Linked DNA regions of Homo sapiens: all the other regions are linked to region 3. Evidence: promoter capture Hi-C in 16 types of primary human blood cells and fetal thymus (Javierre and others, 2016). All regions are on one chromosome and are shown on one strand. Each heading gives the region's core, a stretch centred on a gene start or on the middle of the fragment in contact. The rest is flanking DNA. Distances are from core to core; before and after follow the strand shown.

Region 1 (2,700 bases), core at 5-2,504, 250 kb after region 3:
AGCCTGGGGGACGTCAGCTCCAAGGGTGAGGGTTTCAGCCCTGGGTTCCTTGCTATGGAGTCAAACGTTTCTCCAGTGTGTGTTCAGACTTCTGACCTGGACCCGCCTTAGCCTTGGGGAGCTCTCTCAACTGCGTCCTTTGTTGGATGGAAACTGCATTAGACACAGAAACACAGAGCTGCTCTTTTCCCCACAGGCAGGTGCAGACCTGAAAGAGCCCCGCTGAAGCGGCTCAGAGGCAAGGGGAGGACCTCATCCTTAAGTCACAGGACTCAGGATTAGAGGACCTACAGCTTTCAGCCTCGGCTCACCATCTCCTAGCCCTGATGACCCACAGCCTCCCCAAGCCTTGGTTTCACAGCCTGTAAAATGGGTTCATGAGCCTACTTTTCATAGCTACACTGTGTGTTTGTATATAACCCATGGCTATCACTATTACCTGCGGACCGCGGTGCTATGAAGTCAGGAGACAGGCCTGCACCATCCTGAATCCTCTGTTCTCTGAAAAATCGCCCTTTGTTCTCTCTTACTTCCTTCATTCAATCAGCAAACATTTACCAACTACCTACCATGTGTTAAACTCTGTCATATTAAGGTGAATGGCATGGTCTCTCTCCCCAGTGAGCCCCCAGTCCAGAAGGGGTACTAGATATTGGATATAGACACAAAAGCACAGGAAGTTAGCTCTTCGAATGTGCTGGGGGCAGGGGGCTGTAGGGAAGACTGCTTGGTGGAGGTGGTGTCTAGCTGAGTCCTAGCAGACAAAGGCGGCATGGGGGACCAGGCGTGGTGGCTCACACCTGTAATCCCAGCACTTTGGGAGGCTGAGGCAGGCGGATCACCTGAGGTCAGAAGTTCAAGACCAGGTGAACATAGCAAAACCCGTCTCTACTAAAAATACAAAAATTAGCCGGGCATGGTGGCGCATGCCTGTAAGTCCCAGCTACTTGGGAGGCTGAGGCAGGAGAATCGCTTGAACCAGGGAGGCAGAGGTTGCAGTGAGCTGAGATCCAGCCACTGTACTTCAGGCTGGGTTACAGAGCGAGACTCTGTCTCAAAAAACAAAACAAGGCTGGGTACAGTGGCTCACGCCTGTAATCCCAGAACTTTGGGTGGCCGAGGCGAGCGAATCACGAGGTCAGGAGTTCAAGACCAGCCTGACCAATATAGTGAAACCCCATCTCTACTAAAAATACAAAAATTAGCCGGGTGTGGTGGTGCATGCCTGTAATCCCAGCTACTCAGGAGGCTGAGGCAGGAGAATCGCTTGAACCTGGGAGGCAGAGGTTGCAGTGAGCCGAGATTGCGCCACTGCACTCCAGCCTGGGGGACAGAGTGAGACTCTGTCTCAAAAAAACAAAACAAAACAAAAAGGAGGCATGGGGGACTCAAACATGCAAAGGCAGCAAGGGACACACTTGAGGAGTCCGAGGGGGATTGTGGGTGAGATGGTAGAAGATGAGGCTGCAGGTATAGGTAGGGACCAACTGAGAATGTGTCAAAAGGCTCGGGCTTCATCCTGAGGCCTGGGAGGCCACTAGTGGGTTCTGAGCAAAGAAACACTATGGCGGATCACTCTGGCATAAGCCGGGAGACTTGGGGCTTGTGTTGTTAAATCCCTATGGGGAAATCCCTTTGGAAATGTTGACCTGAGAGACGAGAAACCCCTCAGAGGAATACATATGGCACTTTTACTTGAATTCCTTTTCATTTCGCCTAGAATTTCTGCTTTGCACCAGCTGTTTACATATAATTTACAAAAGTACATTAATGGGCTTGATTGTGTTTCTTAAAACTCACTGAGAAGTAACCCCAAGTAAAATTTTTCCACTGGGGCATGTTCTTAATACATATTTATAGTTACTGAATCCATTTGAGAATGTAGAAAGCTCTTTTGAAATGTTGCGGGAGTACATGACATCTTCAGGTAGGGTTTTCCCCAGTCCTGGCAAGGGGAAGAGAAGGAGAATTAATGTCTGTCAAGTAGCTGCTATAGGCCGGACACTGATCTAGATTCTTTGAATTCAGTGACCCACTGAGAAATAGCATTCCTCTCCCCATTTTACGGACAGGGAAACTGAGGCTTATGAAGGTGGCTGCTTTCCCAAGGCCTCGCACCTATAAGGAGTGGTAGTGGGATTTGAACCCAGATGCGATGAGTCCAAAGCTCACACTCCATCCATTGAACCACTCTGCCACCCAGCTCCTAAGACCTACCAGAAAAGTAAAGCAGGAGCTACAGAGGTAGGTGAGCCACTGGACAGCCTGGTGGCTTCTAGATAAAAATCAGAGCTAAAACACCAGCTCATTTCCATTCTCCTTGCACAAGTTCTTCTGCTGGCTGACAAACTGGAAGCCAGCCCTTCTTTGGGTAGCACTCTTCCAAAGAGTGATAGCTGCAAGTTCTTGGCTACATTCTGAGTTGGAGGTTCAGCCCACTGCATGGAGCAGCAGGTAGGAAGTTGGTGCCTGTAGGTGGCATCAAATTGAACATAAACACACTTGCAGGTGAACCAGGCATGGTGGCTCATGCCTGTAATCCCTGTGACTCAGGTGGCTGAGGCAGGAAGATCTCTTGAGCCCAAGAGTTCACGGCTGCAGTGAACCATGATCACACCACTGCACACCAGCCTGGGTGACAGAGTGAGACCCCAACTCTATTAAAAGCAAAATAAAACAAAACAATGCTTGACCAGGCAT
Region 2 (2,700 bases), core at 27-2,526, 220 kb after region 3:
TTTTCGTATTTTTAGTAGAGATGAGGTTTCACCATGTTGGCCAGGCTGGTTTCAAACTCCTGACCTCACGTGATCTGCCCACCTTGGCATCCCAAAGTGCTGGGATTACAGGTGTAAGCCACTGAGCCCAGCCAGAAATAACTTTTTAAAAACTTGTATATTTTCTTCCAGGCATTTTACATGCATTTTTCCGGATAAGTATACATGTATATACCAAATTTTAAATATATATAATTCTGATGCATATGCAATTTTATATTTCACTCAGCATATTACAAACACTTCCCAAGTCATTATTCTTCAAAAACATGATTTTTAATAGCTTATATAGTATTACATCAGATGTTCATGCCATAACTTCTTTAAACATTTCCATCATTTTTGGATATTTAGATTATTTCCTTCTTTCTTTCCTTCTTTTTTCCTATTTTTAACTTTTGCCAATATAAATAATACTTTCATAAACATGCTTAACACATCTTTGTTCACATTGCTGATTATTTCTCTCAAGAACAGATTTCTAGAATTCGAGTTACTGAATCAAAGGGTATAAATTTTTAAGCTTCTCTTGATCTTTCATATCCAATTATTTTCCAGGCTTTGTACCAATTTGCCCTCCTGTAGCCATAAGTATCATCACTGTGGCTTTTACATTTAATTTATTTGTAACTCTTCGGTGAAGCTGGCAGTTGTAATGACCCATGTTTCTTTTGGCATATTTCTATTCTTAAATTTATGTGTATAGGATTAATTAACTAATTGGTTCAAGCCATGATGGGAATAAAGCCATGTAACTGTGCACCCTCAATCACAAGGGGAGCTCAGAGGAGGTGGATTATTTCATGCACCCTTTCATTACTCCTGGACTAATAATTTGTAAGTCACATGTTCATCCCATCTATCCACACAAACTTATGCTTTCTTTGGGTTTTCCCCAAAAACCCTGAGTATTCCTAAATTGTTACTATACTTCTGAGGATTTTTTTTATTGTTTATTTTTTAATTTTAATTTTAATTTAATATTTTTTTTTAAGAAGATCTTGCTTTGTCACCCAGGCTGCAGTGCGGTGGCGCGATCTCGGCTCACTTCAACCTCTGTTTCCCAGGCTCAAGCATTTCTCCTGCCTCAGCCTCCCGAGTAGCTGGGACTACAGGCGCATGCCACCACACCCAGCTAATTTTTGTATCTTTAGTAGGGACAGGGTTTCACCATGTTGGCCAGGCTGGTCTTGAACTCCTGACCTGAAGTGATCCGCCCACCTCACCCTCCCAAAGTGCTGGGATTACAGGCGTGAACCACTGCACCCGGTCCTTCTGAGGATTTTGAATTGCTGCCCAGTGCATATTCTGTGGGCACTTAGAGCTTAGCTCTCAGTGACTCTCTACCAGTTCCCAACCCCCATGCCATTTCCGCTAAGACCAGCCTTTTAGGAGCCCTAGGTCCACCTCTGCTTTCTGCAGCGCCTGTCTAGTTGAACCTTGGGGTCCTCGCCTTTCATTGGCTGGATTCCTGTTGGGAGTCTTGATATTAAAAGTTGAATATTAGATATTGCAAAGCCAATAATATCTTTTAAAATGTTTGTTTGGTTCTGGCAATGAAAGAAGCAGATATTAATAATCACCTGCTAATCTCCCAGCAAATTACTCTAGTGAACATGTCAACTGAAACGTCGAAGAGCTGTGTTTCATCCCTTTTCTCAGCTTACAAGATTCCTGGGATTCTCAGAGATGGCTAGAACATCCTGGAAGGGTCTGCAGCAGGAATGTATCCTCTATCAGGGAAATCAGGATTAATAAACCTTATAATTATAAACCTACCTTTGAATTTCAGCTCTAGGGAGGCAGCTTTGGGGCTTCTGAAATGCCCAGGGGAGACCTCCATTTACTGCTTTTGTATCAAAAAAGCTGATTTCTTTCTTTCTGGTGTGAATCTGGAGGATTCCTTGCTGGGTTTGGGCAAGTCAGGAGATTTGGCTAAATAGTGATGTCTGCAAGCTTAGGGCCTCACTGGGACCTTCTAACGTTCACATAGGCTTTGAAATTTACAAAATACAGTATCATACATTACACATCATATATTATCGGCTTCCACTTCTCCCAACAACCCTAGAAGGTGGGCATTATTTAAGTTAAAAAGGTGTCACAAAAGGAAGTGGGTCACCTGTCCAGACAGGTTCTCACAGGGAGGTAATCTGTAAGAGAGGAAATTGGTATGGAAAGTGGAGGAGACTCTAAAGAGGGGAAAACATGTTGAAAGAGAATTCCCAAAGGGAAACCCTGTCTACACATTCTGGCTCAGACACTCCATGGTAGTGACCTTAGGAAGTTTTTAAGCTTTTCGGTGCCTCAGCCTCCTCCTCTGTAAAATGATAATGACACCTACCTCAAATAAAGTGCTTAGCCCAGCCTCGCACTAAGGTGGCTGTACAGGTATGTTTATCAAAGCAGGTTCATAAAAGCGAAAAACCTGCAAACATCCCATGAGTCTAACAATTTGTTTAAACAAATTAAGATACACACATACCATGGAATAATATCATTCACTAAGAATGACAATGTGGGCTGGGTGAGGTGGCTTATGCCAGTAATCCCCACACTTTGAGAGGCTGAGGCAGGAGGATTGCTTGAACCTAGGAGTTCGAGACCAGCCTGGGCAACATAGCAAGACCCAGTCTGTACCAAAAAACAAAAAGAAAAAAT
Region 3 (2,873 bases), core at 311-2,810:
TGAATTCGGCCAGGCGCAGTGGCTGACGCCTATAATCCCAGCACTTTGGGAGGCCAAGGCGGGTGGATCACTGGAGGTCAGGAGTTTAAGACCAGCCTGGCTAACATGGCAAAAACCAGTCTCTACTAAAAATACAACAATTAGCCAGACGTGATGGTGCATACCTGTAGTCCCACCTACTTGAGAGGCTGAGGCAGAAGAATCACTTGAACCCAGGAGGCAGAGGTTGCGGTGAGCTGAGATGGTGCCACTGCACTCCAGCCTGGACGATAGACCAAGTCTGTTTCAAAAACAAAAAAAAGAGAATAAATAAATAAATATGAATTAAATGAATAAAGTCCATTAGTGCCTTGAAATCTAAGTACTTTCCTTTTATTTTATTTATTTATTTATTTATTTACTTATTTATTTATTTTTGAGACGGAGTCTCGCACTCGCCCAGGCTGGAGTGCAGTGGCACGATCTCAGCTCACTGCAACCTCCGCCTCCCGGGTTCAAGCGATTCTCCTGCCTCAGCCTCCCGAGTAGCTGGGATTACAGGTGCCTGCCACCACACTCGGCTGGTTTTTGTATTTTTAGTAGAGACAGGGTTTCAGCATGTTGGCCAGGCTGGTCTCGAACTTATGACCTCAGGTGATCCATCCACCTCGGCCTCCCAAAGTGCTGGGATTACAGGCATCAGCCACCATGCCTGGCCAGTACCTTCTTTATAAAACGATCATGGCAAACCTTCAGCTCACTTGCCAGGGCCTAAGTGCTTTACAGGGATCGCTGTACTTAGTCCAGGAACCATCCTAGGCATAGGTATTTTGTATCACTATTGGTACCGATGAGGGAATCTGAGGCTCAGAGGAGCTAAATAACTTAACCAAGGTCACAGCCAATAAAGAGGCCGGCTTGGGGACCCATTTTCGCCGGTTTTCATCACCTAGGGTACCCAACTCCTCTTCCCCAACCTAATCTATTCCATTTCTCAAGAGTAGATACAGACCATGGGCAGTGAGATGCCTTTCTTGGTGTGTCACTCAACAAATCAGAAACTGTGGATTTTGGGGACCCCAGAAGGGCCCACCTGCACTTCTTCCTCAGCCACCATGGGCAGGGCCCTCCGGGCTTGTCTTGATGCCTTATTTAATACAACAGTAGGCACAGCGTCCTGGGCACAGACCTCCGGGAGGTTAGTGATGAGAGAGGCACCCACTCCTCACGGGGTCCCTGAGGCACCCACAGACCATGGCACTACCCGCCTCTGTTGGGCTCCCGGGCACTCACCGTGAGCAGTGGACGGGGCAGGGGCGTGGGTGGGAGCGTGGTGAGAAGCTTAGCAGCTCCATCCAGATGCGAATTGTCCCTCCCATACTTCCCGGGCTGCAGGGGCCTCCATTTAGAGCCCCCAAGGAGTCAGAATCCACACCTCCGCAAATGGGCCCGCTTTCCCAGGGGCCCCCTGCCCAGACTTTCCCTGGGCTCTGTGGGTTTTGACACCTCTCTGCAACCTGGCGGGGGGCCACCTCGCACCTTTGGTCAACATAAAAGCTCAGGCCTGGAGGTGGCCAACCCAGCCTCCCAGAGCCTGCAGCCCGGCCATGGCCCAGTCGCCTCCTCCGCAGAGCCTCCTCGGCCACGACCACTGGATCTTCGCCCAGGGCTGGGGCTGGGCCGGCCACTGGGACTCCACGTCCCCGGCCTCCTCCTCCGATTCGTCGGGTTCGTGCCCCTGCGACGGCGCCCGCGGACTCCCGCAGCCACAGCCTCCGAGCTGCAGCTCCCGAGCCGCAGAGGCAGCCGCGACGACGCCCAGACGAGCGCGCACCGGACCAGCGGGCGGACAGCGGCAGAGCGCCAGCGAGCGGGAGAAACTGCGCATGCGCACGCTGGCCCGCGCCCTGCACGAGTTGCGCCGCTTTCTGCCTCCCTCCTTGGCGCCGGCCGGCCAGAGCCTGACCAAGATCGAGACGCTGCGCCTGGCCATCCGCTACATCGGCCACCTATCGGCCGTGCTGGGTCTCAGCGAGGAGAGTCTGCAGTGCCGGCGCAGGCAGCGCGGGGACGCGGGGTCCCCTTGGGGCTGCCCGCTGTGCCCCGACCGTGGCCCCGCAGAGGCGCAGACGCAGGCGGAGGGGCAGGGGCAAGGGCAGGGGCAGGGGCAGGGGCAAGGGCAGGGGCAAGGACAGGGGCAAGGACAGGGGCAAGGGCAGGGGCGCAGGCCGGGCCTGGTCTCCGCCGTCCTCGCCGAGGCGTCCTGGGGATCCCCGTCCGCCTGCCCCGGAGCCCAAGCCGCACCCGAGCGCCTGGGGAGGGGGGTCCACGACACGGATCCCTGGGCAACACCCCCTTACTGCCCCAAGATACAGTCGCCCCCGTATTCGTCCCAAGGGACAACCTCCGACGCGTCTCTTTGGACGCCACCCCAAGGCTGTCCCTGGACGCAGTCGTCCCCAGAGCCCCGGAACCCACCAGTGCCCTGGACGGCGGCCCCAGCAACTTTGGAGCTGGCCGCAGTGTACCAGGTATGTGTGGAGGCCCTTGCTGTGTTCCCCAGCCTCCAGTCTGCAGAGAATCTCGTACTTTTTCGATCCCAGCTTATCTACTCCAGGATTATCTAACGGAGGGGAGAATGGAAGGAACCCCCGGCTCCGTGGGAGAAGAGATGGGACCCTGGGAAGTTAAGGCCATCTCCACAGTCACCACAAGCAGTCTTCACAGCCATGGGAAAGAGGGGGAGCCCGCCGACTTTCTCAGAGGGTGGAAAGTAGCAGGGTGGGCGTGCTGGCTTCAAGTGCTATTAAGACTGCAGTGGGGGAAGGAAGTCCCAGGGTAAGGGCAGCATTTCCTGAGTAGATGGGCCTAGAGCTGGTGATTTCAAGTTTTCT

Evidence for each region. Contacts are between HindIII fragments. The CHiCAGO score rates a contact against its expected background, and 5 or more counts as called.
Region 1: a contact is called between a fragment that was not itself captured here and the fragment with the promoter of MESP2 in region 3, in 1 of 17 cell types (neutrophils). The highest score is 5.1, in neutrophils.
Region 2: a contact is called between a fragment that was not itself captured here and the fragment with the promoter of MESP2 in region 3, in 1 of 17 cell types (monocytes). The highest score is 5.2, in monocytes.

What each region holds. Positions count from the first base shown.
Region 1 is chr15:90,021,026-90,023,725 of GRCh38, forward strand. All of the region lies in intron 1 of ZNF710 (zinc finger protein 710), which reads left to right. Among named protein-coding and RNA genes, the nearest start is that of MIR3174, 16 kb to the left of the region's middle. The HindIII fragment of the contact is 8,896 bases long and covers 1-2,700 here.
Region 2 is chr15:89,994,603-89,997,302 of GRCh38, forward strand. No RefSeq gene overlaps it. Among named protein-coding and RNA genes, the nearest start is that of ZNF710, 5.4 kb to the right of the region's middle. The HindIII fragment of the contact is 1,433 bases long and covers 561-1,993 here.
Region 3 is chr15:89,774,772-89,777,644 of GRCh38, forward strand. MESP2 (mesoderm posterior bHLH transcription factor 2) reads left to right here and starts at 1,561. Exons shown (of 2, transcript NM_001039958.2): 1 at 1,561-2,510. The coding sequence starts at 1,587. LOC124903550 (a long non-coding RNA gene) reads right to left here and starts at 1,838. Exons shown (of 2, transcript XR_007064751.1): 1 at 1,519-1,838; 2 at 1-280. RefSeq lists a silencer at 1,825-1,984. The HindIII fragment of the contact is 2,896 bases long and covers 1,319-2,873 here.